Linked DNA regions of Homo sapiens: all the other regions are linked to region 3. Evidence: promoter capture Hi-C in 16 types of primary human blood cells and fetal thymus (Javierre and others, 2016). All regions are on one chromosome and are shown on one strand. The core of a region is centred on a gene start or on the middle of the fragment in contact, and the rest is flanking DNA. Distances in the headings are between cores, read along the strand shown. Region 1 overlaps PGLYRP3 (peptidoglycan recognition protein 3). Region 2 has its middle 3.0 kb from the start of PRR9. Region 3 holds the start of LCE5A (late cornified envelope 5A).

Region 1 (3,527 bases), core at 866-3,365, 790 kb before region 3:
AAAGGAACATTCTAAACAAATTTCTATGATAAAGAAGAGCTTAAGGAAATTCCTAAAGAGAATCTGAAGAAAAACATCAATACAAAAGGAACTATTGAATCTGGCATAATTATTTTAGAGAATGTTCAAGTGTTTGGTCCTATAATTTAAAAACATGATGTAGTAATTTTTAAGCTCTTGAAAAGCATTGAACTAATGTCCTCAGGTCCTTGAGTGTCATGCAGTCAAATTCCACTTTGAACCAAATGAGTATTTTTGAAGTGAGGTTCTGGAAAACACATGCAAGCTAAATCCCAACAAAAATTAAAATATATTCCCATGTCTCTTGGAGGTCTAAAACTGGTTATTCTGCACCTCCTATTGTTTTGTTATTGGAACATAGTACTTACTTATGAGCCTCCAGAACCCCTTTTCCTTTTGAGGATCAGTGAGAGGTTTTCATTTATGGAGATTTGCAGTAAAATCATTATTTCCTTCTTGTCAGCTTCCTGGTTGGGGATGATGGCAGGGTGTATGAAGGTGTTGGCTGGAACATCCAAGGCTTGCACACCCAGGGCTACAACAACATTTCCCTGGGCATCGCCTTCTTTGGCAATAAGATAGGTAAGGGTCACTCCCTGCGGACCCTGTGCTGGAGAGTTGTGTACACTCTCTTCCTCCACTCCCAAGGGTCAACACTCATCTTTTTACCCTACATCATACTTACCTTCTCTGATGATCACCCTTCTCTTGAAATTCTTTTCTCCTTTGGATCCTGTGACATGCATACTTTTTGTCCTCTGCCTCTCTTTACTGGTCTGTACTCCTGTGATATTGCTGAAGCTTGCATGGGCGTTGCTTGAGCTCACGGTTATTGCTGTCACTTCTAAAGTCTGAGGTTGTCTGACATAGATGCTGTGACTGCCAGAGGCAGAGAAGCATGGCTCATCTCTTATTCCAGTTCCACTGGTAGAAAGTGACCAGAAGGCAGCAGGCAAGGAAATCTGGAGGTATAATTTGCAGGCTTCTAGCCCCTAGAAAAATAGAGAAAAGCACAGAACAGGGATGGAGCTGAGAAATAATACATATGGAACCAGCACCTGCCAGCATCCTCATTTGACAGCTGGGGCTAGGTAACAGCATTTCTCTCAGAGGTTTTCTGTGAGAGTTATGAGTTAACAGATATAAAAAGCCTACTGCACACCTGATCAGGGGAGCTATGAGTAAATTCTGGTTGCCTTTTCTCCTGTGCTAGTGCACACCTGACTTGGTCAGGTGGGCCTCCCTTTGCATGTATCCTTCACTGCCTTCCAGCTCTTCTGCCTAGAGATGGAGTGGATAAAGTCTTAGCTTGGCTCTTGGAAGAAGTTTTCAACCTTGGCTGCTAAGAGATCTAGGTAGCTTCTCGCCTCTTAGGCACTCTGTTCTGGCAACTGGACCAGTTTCCTCTCTTCCAATCCAGTTATTCAGGCTCAAGTGGTCATATCATCCTTTCTGCAGGTGTCTGGTCTAGGTGGAGTTTCTTACTGACATTTTTGTGCTCCCTGTCCTCCTCTTTAAGGCAGCAGTCCCAGCCCTGCTGCCTTATCAGCTGCAGAGGGTCTGATCTCCTATGCCATCCAGAAGGGTCACCTGTCGCCCAGGTATATTCAGCCACTTCTTCTGAAAGAAGAGACCTGCCTGGACCCTCAACATCCAGTGATGCCCAGGAAGGGTAAGACCCTCCATGTCACCTCACCCTCCTCCTCGTCACCACCTAGCCATGTTTGGAGTCATGTTTGGGAGTGCTTTTTCCTGTTAGACCCCATGGGATTCTGGGACTAAGAACATCTCATGCCTACTTTGAGATCTGGAAAATTCTGAGAGGGCATCTTCCTGGCCTCCTCTCCATCCCATCAGAATGAGATAGCCATAGACTTCTTCTTAAAACAAATACATATGTACACAGATTTTCAGTCAGTCAACAAATATTTACTGCATAGCAGGCACTGTTCTAAGTACTGAGCATACAGCTGTGAACAAAACAGATGAAACTCTTCACCTTCAGGAAGCTTGCACTTCAGTGAGAAGAGACAGAAAATGAACAAAATAACAAAGAAATGTATATGATGTTAGACGGCATAAAAGCTATGGAGAAAAATAGAGTGGGAATGGAGTGGGATTAACATGTATACATAGTTGTGTCTATTATGTGGGGACACGAAGGACATACATAAGCTTACATACCTTTCTAAATGCAAAAACCAGCCATGGCCACAGCACAGCCACAGCTCGGAGAAAAGCTTGTGCTCACAGATGATGCTGACATCAGAGTGCATATAACAAAAAGCTGAGTAATAAAAATAATGCACTATTTTGAAGTGAATAAGCAGCAACCTAAAACCAGTCAAATTAATAAGCACTCCTGCTAGTGGACCTTTTCTTGGGATCAATGATATTTTTAGAATTAGCTTTTTAAAACTGTAAATCTCAAATAAAATGTTTCTTGCTTTTGGACAGGCACTATCTTCAATAATGATAATTTCTTAATATTTGTACAGTTCTCTCTAGATTTCAAGTTGTTTCCAAATATGTGTGATCAGTTCGGAGAGTCCACTGACTTCCGCGTAGTAGCCCTGTTACATAAGCGCACATACCTGCATATATATTTGCAATGCATGGTCTTTTGAAGACAATGACCATGCCTCTGTATAACCCACAGCCCTTTCCCTTCTGCTTATACGCTGATTTCTATTGGTATCAGGCCTGTAGATTTTTGCCTCAGCCCCTTGGCTCCAGCCATCTGAATCAGAAACCTCCCAACTGGACTTCCCCAGAATCCCAAAGCTGATATTACATTAGGATGTGCCCGTGGGTGCTGGAGGCCTGGGAGAGGCTGAGGAATAATCCAGCCTGGAGTTGAGTGATTGCTCACAGAGAGGCAAAAAAAATTCCTACTTCCTTGGCTTTTCATTTTACCACAGTTTGCCCCAACATCATCAAACGATCTGCTTGGGAAGCCAGAGAGACACACTGCCCTAAAATGAACCTCCCAGCCAAATATGTCATCATCATCCACACCGCTGGCACAAGCTGCACTGTATCCACAGACTGCCAGACTGTCGTCCGAAACATACAGTCCTTTCACATGGACACACGGAACTTTTGTGACATTGGATATCAGTAAGTGGGATCAATGCCAAAAGAACCCTCTTTTTCTTCAGGATTGTAGGAAGGAAGGCTGTGGGAGGGAACTGATGTTTCCTGAGCCTCTCCTTTGGGCTGGGTGGTTTCCATAAGGCATCATATTTTATTTTTGCAAGATTGGGCTGAGGATCATTCAGAGCATAGCTAATGGTCAGTTACCTCGCTTGGACGTATCTCCACAAGTGGTTGGGAAGATTCTGAAAAGAAGGCATTAGAAGCCTAGTGATAAAGCAAGACTGTGATACCCTCAGGGAAGGCCATGAAGGGTTGTACCTTTTTAATGCAATCCCTTCTAACCTGTCAGAGACAAAGGCCTTGCTCACTCCTATCTCAGTCTGCCCAGCTCCAAACTTGCTCTCTCC
Region 2 (3,786 bases), core at 515-3,014, 700 kb before region 3:
AGATCTTATTTTTTCCTGGGTTATAAGTTCCTAGAGGATAGGTACTATGCCATAGGTATAGTAAGTGGAAGATGATGGAAGACAAATGATTATTGATGGGGTAAATGTATTAATGAAGGAATACAGAAGGTGGATGTGGGAGAGCTGGGAGTAGAGGAAAATCTCATTTAATTGAAAATGGGAAAAGATTTACTTTGAAAGAAGCCCCCATTTCCTTAAAATGGTGGTTCTGTGTTTGCTGAAGTTGACCAAATTCAAGGGTCTTTAAATATGATGATGTTCCCTTCCTTTCTCCTTAATTTAAAGTTATGTTCTCACACACAGGGGCCTGTTGTGGGGTGGGAGGAGAGGGGAGGGATAGCATTTGGAGATATACCTAATGTTAAATGACGAGTTACTGGGTGCAGCACACCAACATGGCACATGTATACATATGTAACTAACCTGCACGTTGTGCACATGTACCCTAAAACTTAAAGTATAAAAAAAAGTTATGTTCAATCTCTTAACTTGAAGGGGTAGGTTTAAGTCATTTCCTAAGAAGAATATTTGGCTAAAATCAAAAATGTCTCAAATGTTTATATAGGTTTTGGATGCTTGATACCTGAAAAGTTTTTAAAAGGTAAGCTGGGGAGATCAGGAAGCATTTTTGACCTTTGAGACTGGTTCTCAGAGGTTAATGTGACATCACCATGAGCCCCATTGAGGTCCTGGCAGTAGACAGAGGCCTGAGAGTGGAAGGACTTGGAATACCCAGGTGTATATCTGAAGAGAAAAAGTCATTTGGGGCATCTGGGAGAGTAGGTGTAGGGTGGGGAGACTCATCCTTCTTTTTCTCCTCCTTTTTCATCTCCTCCTTTCAATTCTCTTCCTCTTTGTATTTTTCATCTTTTCTTAGAATGCTGTTGAAGAGACAAAGCAACTCTCCTGTGTCCTAGAAAGCAAGGAATTCATCACAGATTTTAATAATATGTTCTTTCAGTCACTCATGGCCCCTATGTGATGTCGATGCATTTCCCTTCCAAAATGACTCACAGTTCCATGGAGAATATGGCCAGAGGTAAGCCCCTGTGCTCCAGAAGAAGGCCTCTTCCTTGGTTTTGGGTGGAAGGTCATGGAAGGCTCCTGGGGGAGGGGATGTCTGTGCTTTGTCTTACCGGACAGTATGAGTTACCCAGGCAAGGACGGTGGACAAGGGCATTTCAGGTGGCCTCTAGGAAAGAATCCTTGTTGGGAGGCTGTTGAAGTACAGAGATACAAGTGAAATGAAAGGATAGATGGAGGCCAGCTTAGGAAAGGAATGAGCAAGAGAATCCGGGAAGAGACCTTCTTAGCTGGGATTTCTGGAAGTTTCCTGTGACAGGATGCATGAGATGACCTTGCTCATGTCATGTATGCCTGTGACTTTGGTTAAGCCCCAGGACAAGGAGACTAAATAGAAATGTGCAGAACAAGAGACTAGATCGTGTTCTCATGGAGGGGAGGTGAGCCCAGTTAGGTAGAGCCCAGAGTTTGACTCCTCTCACTGGATGCCCTGCCTGCCATCAAGTTGATTCATGACAGTGGAACAATCTTGAAATTGACCCCAAAGTCCTTCTGTGGTAGGCAGAATAATGGCCTCCTAGATATGTTCGCCACCTAATCGCTAGAATTTGTAAACACGTTAGGTTACTTGGCAAGAGAGACTGAAAGTAGTGAATAAAATCAAAGTTGCTAATCAGACTACTTTAAAATAGGGAGATTATCCTTGATTATCCAGGTGGGGCCAACATAAGTGTACGGCTCTTAAAAGCAAGAAGAGTCTGTCAGAGTGATGTGATTTGAGAAAGACTTAACTGGCCATTGCTGATTTTGAATATGGAAGGAGTCCACGAGCCGGAAATGAGGGCGGCTTCTACAGTCTGGAAACAGATTCTCCAGTAGGACCTCCGGAAAGACGTGCAGCTTTGCAGGCACTCTATTTCAGTCTGGTGAGACTTCTGTCAGCCTCTGAGCTCCAGAACTGTCATAGGATTCACTTTTGTTGTTTTAAGCCACTAAATTTGTGGTAACTTGTCACAGAAGCAGTAGAAACCTAATAACCTTCCTAGTGCTGGAGGCTCTTGGGAGCTCTTGAGGAAGGGAGCCTCAGATGAAGAATAAAATCTCATTTACCATTCCCTCATTTAAATATATTCCTACTTGTCATGTCAGCATCCTCAATCAAAGGCTAGCTTTTGATAAAGAGGCACTGAGCTGGGCGTGGTGGCTCACGCGTATAATCCCAGCACTTTGGGAGGCTGAGGCAGGTGGATCACTTGAGGTCAGGAGTTTGAGACCAGCCTGGCCAACATGGTGAAACCCCGTCTCTACTAAAAATACAAAATTAGACGGGCGTGGTGGCGGGCTCCTGTAATCCTAGCTAATGGGGAGGCTGAGGCAGGAGAATCGCTTGAACCCAGCAGGTGGAGGTTGCAGGGAGCTGAGGTTGTGCCATTGCACTCCAGCCTGGGCAAAAAGAGTGAGACTCCATCTCAAAAAACAAAGCAAAACAAAACAAACAACAACAAAAAAGAGCGACTGAGATATATGGAGAAAGAACTCAGGATTCCATTCATCTGGGGTTGACTATCACATAGAGTATATGCAATATTGGATAAGTGATTTAACCTCTCATAATCTCAATTTCCTCTTGTTGAGAAAGGAAAATACTATTTCACAGATTTCTTGTGAGGAATAAATTAGACAATGTATGCTCCAAAACTTAGGGCCATCAAGCTACTTATGAATATTAGTGCAATCTGAATCAGTTCAGGACTCACCTCCTCCATGAAGCCTTCCTTGATTTCCCTGGTTCTTCTTGTTCTATGTCCTTTGCTCTGTCCCTCCAATACTTGGTCTTTGACTTGAATTTTTTTTTTTTTTTTTGAGATGGAGTCTTGCTCTGTCGGCCAGGCTGGTGTGCAGTGGCACGTGATCTCGGGGCAGTGCAACCTCTGCCTCCCAGGTTCAAGCGATTCTCCTGCCTTAGCCTCCCAAGTAGCTGAGACTACAGGCACATGCCACCACACCCAGGTAATTTTTGTGTTTTTAGTAGAGACGGTGTTTCACCATGTTGTTCAGGCTGGTCTCGATCTCTTGATCTTGTGATCCACCCCCTTGGCCTCCCAAAGTGCTGGGATTACAGGCGTGAGACACTGCACATTTTTCTTTAAAACAGGTTCAAATTCTGCCATGTATTTATCTCTCCACGTGTGTGTGTCATAGAACATCTAATACATGCCCAAAGCCAAACTCCTGATCTTGCCTCAAAAACTCCTCCTACCACAGTCTTCCTCAGCTCAGTAAGTGGCCTGGCCTCATCATCTTTAAAATAGGAAAGTTAGACTTTCAGTCAGGTCCATCACATCTCTGACATTCTGTGATACTGTAAATGTGATCACGAATGGGTAGCCTGGGTAACTGTGTAACTTTGTAGTGTGTGGACACGTGTGTGGGCACTTTTTCCTTGGTCAGGTTGTAATGTACCCATAGGAAGACCCAGTCTTCTGTCTTCTGCATGCGGCAGTGGCTCACCCAGTGGCTGATTGACCTTAGGTGACCTGTCTTTTCCTAGGTGGGGAGTGGGAGTATTTGGGGCCTGAGTCCTCAAAAATCAATCTTGGTGGCCCAGTATCTGGGGTTGTGGATTAGAAAGCTTTGGAAAAATTGTCTCACCCCAAATCTTAAGATAAGGTGACTAAGTTGTTTCTGTGATCATCCCCAGCCCTCCAGCAAGATTGGAGTTAATCTGATTTAATGACATCT
Region 3 (3,297 bases), core at 567-3,066:
CTTATAATAATCAGAAAAGTAAAGAGTGTCCATTTATTAGAGCCCAGGATGAGCACTTCAGGCAATCTTATTCCCCATGAATGGGGACAAGCAATTTTTCAAACTGTGACCCATGCTTGAAGGAAACCCTCTCAGAACCTGAACCTTTTGAGTACAACCATCCTCTTCTCTTCAAACCCATTCCTGGCTCTCCTCATACAATCTTGTGTCTGGCGTAATGGTCTCAGACATTATTCTTTCCTTCAAGCTTAAAGTTCCAGAATCCAGTGCATAGAAGGAAATATTGTTTTCCAGAGGCCTAAGTAGCTTCACTGCCAAAATGTGCTTCCTAAACAAGTTTGTAAAGTGTTCGCTTGCATTTAAGAGAAGGGAAGGGAAGATGGCTTGATGCAGCAGGTAGGGAGTGGGAGAGGCAAACAATGAAATCAGGAGGCAGTGATATCAGGAATAAAAAGCTTTATTGTTACAGAGAAAATAGCTTCATAACTGAATTACAACACCTAGTTCTCCAAAGAGCTATGTCTGAGAGGGAAAGCCAGGCCAGAAAATATCACAAGCTAGACTTCAACCCTACAATGGAGTGAACATGGGCAGGATAAAGAGGGGAACTTAAGGCATTTCCGAAGTCCTTCCATGGGAAATGAGAGAAAAGAAGCCTCAGGCTGACACACATCTTCAGCACCTGGGATCTGCCAGTCCTTCTCCTCCGTGCTCCTCATGGCCCAGGTCAGCAGCAGCCTCCAGAGCTGTGGCAGCAGCCAGAGCCCCCAGAGCTGTGGCAGCAGCTGGAGCCCCCAGACTGCTGGCCACTGCCACTGCCACAGCAGCTGGAACTCTGAGGTCGGCGTCGGAGGGACTGGCGGGGCCTGTGGTGGCTCAGGCAGCAGCCACCACCCTCAGAGCTGCAGCAGCCCCCAGAGCTGGAACCACAGCAGGAAGAGACTGGAGGTGGGCATGGGGCTGAACACTGGGGAGGGCATTTTGGGGGACACTTGGGAGGACACTTAGGAGTACACTTGGGAGGGCATTTAGGGGTACATTTGGGAGGAGGCTGGCACTGCTGCTGGCTCTGCTGGCAGGACATCTCTGTAGAAGCTGAATAAAGCTGAAAGACAATACAAGCCCAAGGTCACTTCCTTGCCCTTAAAATTGAACTATAATTTCACAAGATTTTATCTCTAAGATGACCAGAATTTATTATTATGATTATTATTATTATTTGGGATGGAGTCTCACTCTGTCACTCAGGCTGGAGTGCAGTGGTGCTATCTCGGCTCACTGCAACCTCCACCTCCCGGATTCAAGTGATTCTCCTGCCTCAGACAGGTGTGCACCACCACACCCAGCTAATTTTTGTGTTTTTAGTAGAGACGGGATTTCAGCATGTTGGTCAGTCTCGAACTCCTGACCTCTTGACCCGCCCACCTCAGCCTCCCAAAGTGCTGGGATTACAGGCATGAGCCACTACTCCTGGCCTAAGATGAACCAGATTTTAAAAACCCAGTCTCCCAAGACCAGTAACAAGAATGATACAAATGATTTCCACCTAGTAACTCCATATTTTCAAATGAATAACTTGGAACTTCAGAAAGGCATCAGTCCTTCATTCCTTTTACCTACCTTCCACCCTCCCCTTCCAGAAGAACCTTCCCCTCCAAAATCCTTCTTTATCCTTGTCTTTCTTCAAGAATGGCCTCAACCTCCACCCAGGGGCTCTTTCTGCCCAAAACACCAGCACCAAGAGTTCATCCTGGTCCTGAGAAGCACTCTACCTGGTTCAGGCACTGCAGCAGATCACTCAGGAGACAGGTAGACTGAGGTGCTGTCAGAAGCTTCTGCCTTTTATACAATTCAGTCCTGACCTAGCATCAGGAGGTGCAGACCATGTGCGGGACGCTAGAAGCATCTTTCATAAAGGCATGGGTGACTCCCTCCCCTCGCATCCCAGGGACCCAGTTCCTCCCTGCATAAGCATCTCAAGTATTAACCCACAGGAAGATCCCCTGAGAACTGCAGGCCTCTAGGATGGTGAGGGAGCTCTGTGAATTGCACATGGCACCTATCTATCTCACAGGCAGCTCTGCTATGCCTTCTATTTTCTGAGCTGGGCCAATACGGCTCTACACCTCTGGAATGAACAGAAGTTCTGTTTTCTCTTTGGTATAGGAACTGAAGGAGAAAATTCCCAAGATGGAAATTAAATGGCCCTTTTTAGAATAATAATAGAGATCCAAAATAAAATTGTAGGCCCAAGCAAATAATCTAACATGATTTTTTTTTCATTTCTAGATGATGCCATAACCAGAACAAGGAAGGTTTGATATCTCAGTGATGTTATTTTAGGCAGATCTAATGCTGACAGTGTGGGTGGTTGGGCTTCTCTCCTTGCCTGAATTTGATGCTCCAAAACTGCTCACAAACAGTACCGATTCAGCACTAACAATGCCTTTAAAAGGGCAGAAGTCTAGGAATGGCTTATTTACTCGTGTTAAAGAAGGTGCCCTTGGCCAGCTCGAGGTGAGGCAGCAAAGACCAGGTGTATACTGAGGGTGGAGCAAAAGCTCTCCACTCATCTGGAGGTTTCCAGAAGTGAGGCACCAGTTCTGGTCATTCATAAGAGAAGAGCATCCAACCTGGGAAGGACCTCAGGAGAAGATTAATCTTTGGATGGAGAGGTGAAGAGGAGGAGTATATAGGTTTTAAAAGCCCATGGTGGGATCCAAAACATTTTCTCAGCAAACAATATTCTGAGGGAAAGTTGGGTCCCCAGGATAGTTATCAAAATTGACTTAGCTGGAAAGGGTGGCCAAAATATGGCATATTCACAATGAAAGCTGCAGTGAGAGAAAATAAGACTGGGAGAAAAAGGCAGTACCTTAGCTCCATGCTCTTTGAAATGGGCTGCAGTGAGAAGCATCAGCCCAGTTATAACACAGACCCTGGAGAGGGACATCCAGCATCAGTTCCCACCCTTGCTCTCTCCACCTGTGCAACCTCTGGCAAGTTACTTAACCATCACTGGAAAAGGGGGCTGAAAACATTCCTAATCCACTGAATAAAGAAATACAGATGAAGTTCTTAGCACAGTTCCTAGAACTGCAAGTTTAAAAAAGAAAAAACTAATCACTATGGCTATCCTTATTTCCATGAGAAAATATATGCTAAATTTCAAATTACTGACCTGCCAATTTTGAAACCAAAACTAATTTTTATGATATCAGAACTTAGACTCGATGTTTTCTTACAGCAAAATATTAAGAGTATTTGCTTGTCACTAGGGAATGAGATTATAAAGAA

Evidence for each region. Contacts are between HindIII fragments. The CHiCAGO score rates a contact against its expected background, and 5 or more counts as called.
Region 1: a fragment that was not itself captured here is called in contact with the fragment with the promoter of LCE5A in region 3 in 1 of 17 cell types (megakaryocytes); the score reaches 5.3 in megakaryocytes.
Region 2: a contact is called between a fragment that was not itself captured here and the fragment with the promoter of LCE5A in region 3, in 1 of 17 cell types (M2 macrophages). The highest score is 5.7, in M2 macrophages.

What each region holds. Positions count from the first base shown.
Region 1 is chr1:153,302,023-153,305,549 of GRCh38, reverse strand. It overlaps PGLYRP3 (peptidoglycan recognition protein 3), which reads left to right. Exons shown (of 8, transcript NM_052891.3): 4 at 485-603; 5 at 1,541-1,693; 6 at 2,943-3,141. Among named protein-coding and RNA genes, the nearest start is that of PGLYRP3, 9.2 kb to the left of the region's middle. The HindIII fragment of the contact is 166 bases long and covers 2,033-2,198 here.
Region 2 is chr1:153,212,731-153,216,516 of GRCh38, reverse strand. No RefSeq gene overlaps it. Among named protein-coding and RNA genes, the nearest start is that of PRR9, 3.0 kb to the left of the region's middle. The HindIII fragment of the contact is 3,829 bases long and covers 1-3,678 here.
Region 3 is chr1:152,509,322-152,512,618 of GRCh38, reverse strand. LCE5A (late cornified envelope 5A) reads right to left here and starts at 1,816. Exons shown (of 2, transcript NM_178438.5): 1 at 1,621-1,816; 2 at 442-1,105. The coding sequence starts at 1,084. The coding sequence ends at 728. The HindIII fragment of the contact is 1,377 bases long and covers 458-1,834 here.